3 separate regions of the Homo sapiens genome follow, and all the other regions are linked to region 1. Evidence: promoter capture Hi-C in 16 types of primary human blood cells and fetal thymus (Javierre and others, 2016). All regions are on one chromosome and are shown on one strand. The core of a region is centred on a gene start or on the middle of the fragment in contact, and the rest is flanking DNA. Distances in the headings are between cores, read along the strand shown. Region 1 holds the start of METTL14 (methyltransferase 14, N6-adenosine-methyltransferase non-catalytic subunit). Region 2 overlaps MAD2L1 (mitotic arrest deficient 2 like 1). Region 3 overlaps MAD2L1-DT (MAD2L1 divergent transcript).

The links. Contacts are between HindIII fragments. The CHiCAGO score rates a contact against its expected background, and 5 or more counts as called.
Region 2: a fragment that was not itself captured here is called in contact with the fragment with the promoter of METTL14 in region 1 in 1 of 17 cell types (total CD4 T cells); the score reaches 5.3 in total CD4 T cells.
Region 3: a contact is called between a fragment that was not itself captured here and the fragment with the promoter of METTL14 in region 1, in 1 of 17 cell types (total B cells). The highest score is 7.1, in total B cells.

Annotation. Positions count from the first base shown.
Region 1 is chr4:118,683,408-118,686,760 of GRCh38, reverse strand. METTL14 (methyltransferase 14, N6-adenosine-methyltransferase non-catalytic subunit) reads right to left here and starts at 1,369. Exons shown (of 11, transcript NM_020961.4): 1 at 1,161-1,369. The coding sequence starts at 1,226. It overlaps METTL14-DT (METTL14 divergent transcript), which reads left to right and starts at 1,420. Exons shown (of 7, transcript NR_125930.1): 1 at 1,420-1,456; 2 at 2,294-2,353. RefSeq lists enhancers at 831-970, 1,151-1,410. The HindIII fragment of the contact is 9,570 bases long and covers 918-3,353 here.
Region 2 is chr4:120,055,295-120,059,016 of GRCh38, reverse strand. MAD2L1 (mitotic arrest deficient 2 like 1) reads left to right here. Exons shown (of 5, transcript NM_002358.4): 5 at 1-3,394. Among named protein-coding and RNA genes, the nearest start is that of MAD2L1, 9.7 kb to the left of the region's middle. The HindIII fragment of the contact is 1,407 bases long and covers 1,230-2,636 here.
Region 3 is chr4:120,075,386-120,078,983 of GRCh38, reverse strand. All of the region lies in intron 1 of MAD2L1-DT (MAD2L1 divergent transcript), which reads right to left. Among named protein-coding and RNA genes, the nearest start is that of MAD2L1-DT, 10 kb to the right of the region's middle. The HindIII fragment of the contact is 1,023 bases long and covers 1,503-2,525 here.

The DNA.
Region 1 (3,353 bases), core at 120-2,619:
GTTTGAATTCAATATTAAGGAGTAAAACGTCTTCTGTGGTAGCAACAAAGAGCTACTTAACATTTTTGAAGATAATACGATAAAAGAAGTTGGCGAAAAGAAGACTTAGAAAGGATACTTGATTTGCCCAAGATCGTAATGCCAGCGGGATAAGGAACAAAGGAACAAATCTGACTCCAAGTTTCCACGGTTTTAGCCATATTCCACAAATCTGTTCATCAGACCATAAAGAGGATAGGTTTCAGAAGTCCATTTACTAAAACCAAGTTTCATTACTGAAAAATAACTGCAAGATGACTAATTACACTCTATGAGCATTGCTCCTATCACTTTTACTGATCTGAATAGTAGAATGGAAAATACAGCCTCGATTTTAAGTAGAACTGTGCACAATCTGTATTTTCTGCATGTGCACTCTACTAATCAGCAAATGTTAACTTACTCATACACAAGAAAGAAGTGAAGGACAATGGTTTAGAAGACAAGCTTTGGGGAGACAAACCTAGGTTCTATTTCCCAGCAGAGAAGTGAGCGACCAGGAGTAAAATTCCTTAACGTATGGAGCCTTTTTCATTACTTGATAAGTGAAGGTAATAATACCTGTTTCAGGAGATTATTGTGACTAACACAGAGTAAGATTTCAAATATTAACTGTGGATGTGACAAGGATACTCTATATAAGATGCAGAATCTAAAATTTACACTCAGGCTACTTCCAGTGTTGTCTTCAGAAAGATGTCAAAGAAAATACTGTAAACGTATTTCATAATGAAACCACAATCTCAAGAATTTGGGGCTGACGACGAAGAAAAGAAAGAAATAGATGACCATTTAATAGTGAAGAGAAATGTAGGGGATAACATGACACTCATCCTGGCGTGAACATGCCAGACACTCGGTGGGAGTTCCACAAAGCTTAAAGGCTAATCCTGGCATTCGGTTTAGCACCACAAAGACCGCGGAAGGAACTGGAAAAACATTCGGGACACCGCGAAAATTGAGAACTACAAAGGCAGAACCAGGGATCAAGATCGCAGGACCAGAAAGGCCTTAACAGCGGCAGGTAGAGAAGGGACAGAAAAAGGCGGGGTGTGGAGGGAGGAGGCGGCCGCGCACTCGCATTCTCGATCCCTCCCACAGGGGACACCAGGGCCGCGGACCTGCTGCGCGAGGAGCTGTCGCCGTAACTTCTGCCGCTCCCGGATCTCCTGCAAGCGGCTATCCATGTTCCAACTCCGGCTTTTCACTATCCCGAGTACTTGTCAATCTCCAGTGAACTCTTATCCAACCTTTCTTCCGAGTCTGTGGAACAAAATTCACCGGGAGCTTACGAACAGAGTATCCTCATAGCTTTCCTCAGTAGAGACTTCCGGCGCGGCCGGAATTGGCTCGCTTGGCCCGGAAGTCCCGCCTCCTTCTGGACGCTTGCTATGTGACGCCACTTGGAAGGGACCCAGTAAGGGATCTGTTGCGCCACAGGGGTCTCCAGGGCCCTCGCAGGTTGGGGTGGTCTGAGCTAGTCTGAAGGAGGACAGTCAGCTGACTTCTCCTTTATCTCTCTTTCCCAGGATAGCAGGTTCCCTTGGTGTATTACAGTTTCTGAAGTGTTGATTCCCTTTTCAATTGATTCCACAGATGACAGTCCTGACGTTTAAAAAATTGCCAGATAACCTTTAATTTTTTTTTTTTTAACAGAACACAAACTTAAGCCAGATTGCCTAGGATTGAACCTTGGCCTCTCACTTCCTAGACGAGTGGCCTTGGCTAGTTAACCACCTTCGTGAGCCTCAGTTTTGTCATCTGTAAAATGGGAGTCATAAGTGTCTACCTCACAGAGCTGTGATTGAAAGGATAAATAGCACCTTGCACATAGCGGTGTAGAAGTGCTTGTTATTGTTAATATTTTATTTACCTTCACGCAGGTAACAGCCACAACATCTGCCCACTCTTCCCCACACCTTACTGTCCCTTGAAATGTTTCCCATTTTACTATAGTATGCATTTTTTGGCTTCTTCCCTTTAGGGAAATGAGTATGTGATAGTAAAGCGTGTCTTGGTTTATGTCCTAGGAGTCAGAAGCTAAGAGACTCCTTTTTGTGCTTGTACATTTGTCTTAACTGAAAATAACCCAAGGATAAGGAAACAAATAGCTTCCTGAAATTACTCGGATTGCGGGGGTGAGGGGTGAGGGCTGGGGGGTGGTGATTCTGTCTTCATAGGATGGCAGCAAAGGCCAAAGTCTTATTTGAGTTATTACCATTATTATTCACCACACTTGCCATCTTATTTCAAGCCTACAGTGGCGGAAGTGGAGTAAGACATCATGTTGCCTCAAGTTTAATTGGAAATCGCGGTAAGTACTTAACAAAATTAGTAATAAGTCTGTTCTTTCAGAGTAGATTTAATTTTCAGAAATAATATTAAGTCATCCAGATCAAAACCAGTTGAGTCAGGCTGGGCCAAAAGTGGGCAAGACTAGATTCTACTTAGTCATGCCCACTTTTATAGAAATAATTATAATGTATTTCCGAAGAACTAGGTCTGAAAGACAATTTTGAACAAGTAGTCCTAAACAATTCCTTGAGTAATGTCAGCACTACTTGGATACTGTAAAATATTTATGTCCATATGAGTTAAAGTGTATTTCTTTAAAAATCAGTTGTATTATCTGGCAATCATTTAAGTTGAATACTGATTTAAATTTTACCAATGGTGAGAATAGGCAATTATTCACTTAAATATCTGTTGATATTGATTGAGCATTTTATATGGCAAGCACTGTGATAGGCCCTAGAGTCTATAAAGTCTGTCAAAGATTAAAAACTAAAGTCGGTTTTTCTTTATGAGTTTACTGTCTAATGGAGGATTTTTCTTTTTCCTGATAAGTTGCTATGCAGGTTACTTGCTTGTAATCTTTGAACCCCATACTCACCTACCCTCTGCTTCGAGATGATGGCTAGGCAGGGAGTCCACAAACTACATTTCCCAGCCTTCCTTGTTAGATGGCTTCCTGTAAGACTCTGCCCACAGGAGGCACAGGCAGGAAATCAAAAGGTGGAACATGGGAAAGCTATTGTCCATTTATTTTACTCTCTGCTTCTGGCATCTAGAGCGATGACTATGTCCCTTACAAAGTCTAGAGCCAGTTGGAGCAGCCCCTCCTTTCCTTACCTTAAGAAAGTGACACCCTTAACAGTGAGTGAGTTTGCTCTTGTGCTATGATACTACTACTTCTACCTTCTGTTCCACCAGCTCAAGGACTGGTAGCCATCCTGCAGTTTAAAATTTCTGATTTAATCTTACTTCTCCCTTTTTGCTCTTCTAGCCTTCAATATCTGCTTAACTATTTCTCC
Region 2 (3,722 bases), core at 684-3,183, 1.4 Mb before region 1:
GTCAGTTTAAGGCAGATTTGTAAAGTCTTCTCTAATCTCTAATCTAAATCTGACCTCATTTTGTAAAAATTCAGTTTATTAATGTTTATTATTAGACACTAAGTTCTTTATGTGTATTAACTTATTTAACCTTCACTATTTTTAAGTAATTGCACATAGTCTGAATCTGTTCATTCAGAAATTACATATTGAGCAAATACTGTGGATCAGTGGCAGTTTCTGGGTTCTCAGTGACAAATTTGTAGACTCTTCATATCTTTATGGAATAAGTGGACCACTGGTGTTACCAACCTAGATGATTTCAAGAAAAGTGGCAATTAAATGCTTCATTTGTATTTTAACTATTTGAGAAGTCAGACTAAATTCTGCGAAATCACTTTTCCCCCCCAAGATGGAGTCTTATTCTGTCGCCCAGGCTGGAGTACAGTGACGCAGCTCAGCTCACTACAGCCTCTGCCTCCCGGATTCCAGCCATTCTTCCGTCTCAGCCTCCTGAGTAGCTGGGATTACAGGCACGTGCCACCACACCTGGCTAATTTTTATATTTTTAGTAGAGAGAGGGTTTCACCATGTTGGCCAGGCTAGTCTTGAACTCCTGACCTCATGATCTGCCCGCCTTGACCTCACAAAGCATTGGGATTACAGGCGTGAGCCACTGCGCCCGGCTGAAATCACATTTTTAAAGGTTGTGTGTATACTCTGGTCATTTCAACTCAGCTACCAATATTAACAGGATTAAATTCTTAGATTTTTGTATCATTTGCATGCTACTATTTACTCTGAGGTTTCTGGAGAGCTAGTCATGATGAGTCATTTTACCCCTTACAGATTATATAATCAATTAAGAAATACACATTTTGGGCTGGGCGCAGTGGCTCGCGCCTGTAATCCCAGCACTTTGGGAGGCCGAGGCAGGTGGATCACGAGATCAGGAGTTTGAGACCAGCCTGGCCAAGATGGTCAAACCCCGTCTCTACTAAAAATATAAAAATTAGCTGGGCGTGGTGGCGGGCGCATCTCAGCTACTTGGGAGGCTGAGGCAGGAGAAATCGCTTGAACCCATGAGGTGGAGGTTGCGGTGAGCCAAGACCGTGCCACTGTACTCTAGCCTGGGCGACAGAGCAAGGCTCCATCTCAAAAAATAATAAATAAAAAAGAAATACACATTTTGGAGCTGAGTGGGAGCCAAACTATGAGTTTTATTGAGGTGAAGCTATACTGGAAAAGCTTTGCCCTGTAGCTCCAAGTGGACTGTCCCATCCTCTTTCTAGACCTTGAGGCTTACCTCAGGAGGATGATGTTTAAATCAACAGCTGAAAGACTTGTGAGTGGTTTCTACACCATGTTAAAGAGAAGGTTCTAAGACAGCATGATAGGCCTCTAGGCCTGGCCTGGACTCTGGCTCAGTGTTGCTTACCATATGTAGAGGATGAACAGAGGTTAAGCCCATCAAGGTCTGAAGTAGAGCCCAGGAGGAACTGAACTGTATCTGGCTTTCAGGATCCTTTTCCCAGTGTCATCAATCAGAGAAGTCAAACCTCTGTGAGAATGCTTGTGCAGAGGTATAACAGTCTCATGTATTGGTTGGCTTTTGCTGCACCTTTCTCATTCTGTTGGAGGGACATTGGTTAGTCAGGACTCTGAAGGCCAGCTTTTTCACACTGACCAAAGCAAGTGAAGGTCAAGCCTAACTTTAATGGGACCAGGAAGTATACTCCTCCCATGGAGGTGGTGGGAATGGCACCGAGAAGTTTGATGACAGTTATCTAATGGACTAGAGGTTGGCAAACTTTCTGTAAATGGCCAGGTAGTAAATAGTTCTGCTTTTGAAGGCATATGGTCTCTTGCACCTACTCGAGGCTGAAAGCAGCTATAGACAATACATAAATGAATGAGCGTGAGTGTGTTCCAATAAGAAAAAAACATGGCTGTTTGCTTCGGCCCCAGGGTTGTAGCTTACCAGTCCTGTAACAGATCACAGTTTGCTCTTTTGGTCACAAATACTTGAACCCCTCCCTAGTTCAGAGCATTTGATACCGTAATATTTAAAGCTCACTTGTAAAACATCGTTTGTTGCCTCCATCCATAGTATCTCAAACAGAATGTCTCTCCCAAATATACCTAAATTCCATATTCTCTGAAGCACAACCAGCTATTTTCTTGACATACTTCCTAACACACCCCACAGTTCACAATTTGATCTGAAAACTTGTTAAGGGAGGTTCTTTGGCATGTGATGCCATAAAAAGAGAGGTATGGGCTCTCCTTTAAAAAAGAGACCCTTTTTATGAGACTCACAATAGGATAAAGAGCCCATGCCTATTTTTAATCATTTTTTCACTATATAGACATGCATGCTGAAAAATGTTTTTATTAGTATAATGCTAATTATACTGACTTCCTATATATTTTAGCATATAGATTCAAAGATTATTAGCACAATAAGGTAGATAACTTCATAGACCATTTCTTCATCTTGTTTTCATTTAGTATGTAAAATTTATCTAAAATTTACATGAAAGATCAGAATAGCTATGTAATGCTACTTTGTAACTCTTATATTTTCCACCAGATGTCACTAATGCTGTAATATTCAAATTAAGATGACTTTCTTTTGGTTCTAAAGGCTGTAAGCTTATTGGAAAAGCAAGGTTACTCAGCATTGGAATTCCTGGCAACAAATATATAAATACATTAGGGGAATAAACACTTAGCATTTATTATTTACTAGTCACTTCACATGAATTTTTATTTAATTCTCATGCTTTTGTGCACAAGTAAAACTGGGGGTCAATGGGCATGCAAATTGTGTCGTGGTTTTTGAAGTTTAGTGGTCTCTCCTATCCCTGGCCAAGGAAGTATGCAAATTGTATTGTGGTTTTTGAAGTTTAGGTGATCTCTTCCTTCTATCCCTAGCCAAGGAAGTTCATCCTGACTCCCCAACAAGCATATCAAAAGGAGTGTTTCGTCACCTTTTTCCTCTTACCCTTTACATCCTTTTAGCAATAAAGTGTTCAGAACAAACTGGTTTTCCTTTACTGTGCTTTGCAAAACTTATTCATGTTTTATTGGGTGACTTTGTATTTACACTTTCCTCAGATAGTCTGTTGTCAGATGACTTTGACCAATGATTGGGAGGAACCAAATACAGAGGATTTTATCCTATGCCTAATCTATATTGTCTACAGAGTAAATCAGGTATGAATTTGTGAACAGTAATGAAACAATTTTCCAACTAATCAGAAGAATTGTTTGTTAAGTAACCTTAATTACTCAGTTTTTGGTGAATTGTTTGCGGCTTAACTTGTAAATAATTTCTTATTCTTTTTTTAAATGTATGAAATATTTCTAGTTATTTTGTTCAATGTGACTGATAAAAGTTTATATTGGAATAGCTGTGAAATGGAAACTGTCTACTCAATTTTAAATTTTATTAGTTATATATTTTTAAAAATAGATCTTTTAGAGATATTTCCATTCTTCATAATTATGACTTTTAAAGCCAGCAGTATTCACTGAGGCTAAAAAAAAAAAAAAAAACAAACGTAGTTGGGCAAGCTACTTAATCTTCATTAGAGTTGACAATTCTGTTCCAATCTGGCAAAAACATTGTAGCCCTAGCAACAAGACTATTAGAAAAGGCCTAGAGTGAAAAATGTCAGAGTTGACCCTCTGATTACACAAGTTGGTTTATGTTACCATGTCACCTATTTTTGTCCTCC
Region 3 (3,598 bases), core at 765-3,264, 1.4 Mb before region 1:
CTAAACATAAAATTCCCAAGATCCAGCAATTGCTTATGTGGTTTCTCCACTCTCCATTTCTCTTGCAAACCTTTTACTTCTATCTTCTTAGCCTTACTTCCAAACTCCTTGTAAAAGACTTTTATACCCTACCGTGTGACCCAAATTGTCTCCTCTTAGTTCACCAAAAATCTTTCAAGTACAAAATCTGTGACTCTTCCTCAGTCATTCTTATTTGTGCTGAATTATTTACTAAACTACTAAAATAGTATTTTTCTACCTAATCCAAATTCACTAAATAGGTTCTGACATTCCTCTCACAATTTGCCTCCTACTTTTCCATTTCTTCTGAGTTTCCTTCACTGCCTCTTCTTCCTCAATGTGTCATTTTATTAGCTATTACCTCAAAAAAAATTTTTTTTTTTTGCCTGGCCTAAAACCACTTGAAGGAAAATGAATCGAATGCCACAAACTTATCTATATCATCTCCATGTATAACAGCTCCACACCATGATCCCCCAAAACCCAGGCTGTTCTTCAGAGTACAACCAAACACATCTCAACACATTTTTAAAATGTCTCTCAAATTTGTCATCTTTTTACATTCCTGCTGTATTGCATATTCTCATTTCCTTTTGTCTGAGCTATCAATAAAATTGGCAGGACAAAGAGTAGGCTATTTCAAATGCCATTCTATCCCTTGGCCAGAATATTTGTTTAATGCCTCCTCTTAGTTCACTGAAGATCTTTTAAGTAGAAAATTGACAAGATCTTTTAAGCACAAAATTTTTAAAAAATTCCTGTTTTTGCAGCCCTAGTCAGGGTACCCCTTTTGGCCATCCACTCTTAGCCAGATGAGCCAGTATTGCACCCTGGATCCTACCTCTTGTTTCTTTTCCTCCAGTTTTGGACTCTTTTCTTCCACTTTTGGATTATTTTCCTTGTTCCAATTCTGTGACTTTCCAGCCATTCAGCTCCATTGGTTTCCATTGCTGAATGGGTCTCAGGAGTTACATAGCAAGGATGGAGGAATATTAAGGACCCACTATAGTTTGCCTCAAATTAGAGTTATCTAAAATATAGTCAGATCTTTGATGCTTTCAGGATTCATATTCTGGTACCATCTAGATTGCTTGGATTTGACTCCAGTTCTCCTAGCTGGGTGACCTTAGCTAAATTATTCAACTTCCTTCTGTAACTTAATTCAGGTAATAGTAGTATCTAACTCTTGAGCTAATGAGGGATTAAATAAAATGATTCTTGTAAAGCACATAGAAATGTGCCTGGCAGATAGTATGTGGTTAATAATGTTGGCTATCATTATTATATATGTTATAAGAGTTTCTATCTCATCTGTGCCTTAAGTTGTATTATCTAAAGCCTCCTTTAGTTATGCTAAACTAAACATGTACCAACCCAGGAAAGGTGCGTGGAAAAGTGGTGAAAAGCTGTCTTATTAACAACAACAGTAACAATATAATAATAAAACAATAACAATAACATATTAGCATTAAGCCAAAGCTTCATTTAAATTATCTCATGTAATACTCAGAAAAATTATATGTGACAAGTACTATTGTTACATCCATTTTACCGATAAGGAAAATAACTCCTATATAATTCTTCTTAAATTGTCCAGATAGTCTGCTTCTAAGAAGTTTCTCTGGAACATGCTAGGCTAACATCTTTTTTTGACATATCTGCATGTGATCTCTGCTGTTGGTAGATTGCTTGGAGATTCCTGCTTCTTTTAGACAAGACCATGACACTCCCTCATTATGCAACCAGTAATAAAGTTTTTTTTTTTTATGTGATCTAAGTGGACTTTTATGACAGGATTTGTTGAAACCCCTAAGATGGCTTTTATTCTGTGCTTTGGGCAGTGGTAAATAGATGGGGTTCAAGAGTCTGGAGCACTCCTTCCCAATAAGAATGTATTTTCCTTACAGGATTGTTCTGCAAAGTCCATTATAAAGAATGATAGCTCACGCCGGGCATGGCGGCTCACACTTGTAATCCCAGCACTTTGGGAGGTCAAGGTGGGTGAATCACTTGAGGCCAGGAGTGCAAGACCATCGAAACCTTGTCTCCACTAAAAAATACAACAATTAGCTGGGTGTGATGGTGCATGCATGTAATCCCAGCTACACAGGAGGCTGAGGAATAAGGATCACTTGAACCTGAGAGGCGATGATTGCAGTGAGCTGAGATGGTGCCACCACGCTCCAGCCTGGGTGAAAGAGCAAGACTCTGTCTCAGAAAAAAAAAAAAAAAAAAAAGAATGATACTTCAAATTTCCACATAGGCATGCAGGTCAGCCATCCTAACTAGGTCTATTCCATATTTACCTAGAAGAGAGGACAAGCACGGAACACTACTATTCCCAACTCAGGTGCCTCATCCCCTAATCAATAAGGTTTCTGCAAACATCCTCAAAATCAGTGGCTTCCAAAGTGGAATATATGCAAAAAACAATCCTTTTGGGAGTATAGGAAGGAATGTTACAACTTCTATTTAATTTATGTTTTAACCTAGGAAAATAAGCTTTACTAAAAAAATGGATTTCAAAAAATGGACTGACATTGCACACTCACACAGTCTCCATGTCAGAAGGTCACGTTCTTACTCATATGTGGAAGTTAAAAAAGTTGATCCCACAGAAGTAAAAAGTACAACAGAGAATACTAGAGGCTGGGAAGGGTAGGCGGAAAGAGAGGACAGAGAGATTTGTTAAAGGAAACAAAATTACAGCTAGATAAGAGTAAGTTCTAGTGTTCTACAGCACTTGTAGGATGACTACATCCTACAAGTTAATAATAGTTTAAAATAGCTAGAATGGGGATATTGAATGTTTGAAACACAAAGAAATTATAAATGTTTAAGATGATAGATAGGCTGATTACCCTGATCTGATCACTATACATTGTATAGACCACAACATCACTATGCACCCTGTAAATATGTACAATTATTATTTGTCAGTTTTAAAAATTTAGAAAAAAAAGGGAGTCATAGGCCATGATTGGTACCCTGAGGAAATGCAAGTCAGCTGTGCCAGATTTACTGGCTCTTTCTCTTTGCAGTACTGTGCTAACAAGAACTTCAGAAAAATTAACATTCTTCCATTCCGTTTTTCAAAAGACACTCATGTTATGGAAGGAGCACGTTTGAATAAACTTTTTTTTTTTTTTGAGATGGAGTCTCGCTCTGTCACCCAGGTTGGAATGCAGTGGCACGATCTCAGCTCACTGCAAGCTCCAGCTCCCGGGTTCATGCCATTCTCCTGCCTCAGCCTCCTGAGTAGCTGGGACTACAGGTGCCCGCCACCACACCCGGCTAATTTTTTGTATTTTTTTTTTTTTTACAGGGTTTCACTGTGTTAGCCAGGATGGTCTCAATCTCCTGACCTCGTCATCCGCCCTCCTCAGCCTCCCAAAGTGCTGGGATTACAGGCATGAGCCACCGCACCTGGCCTGGATAAACTATTTTTTAAAAAAGTCTCATCTGTACAATTGAAAAGTTTGGAAACAGAGTTCTCTAAACTATAATTTTTCTAAATTACAAATTAGTTCCAAAACTAACTAAAAGGTCAAACAATGCATTTAATTAGTTCCCAAAC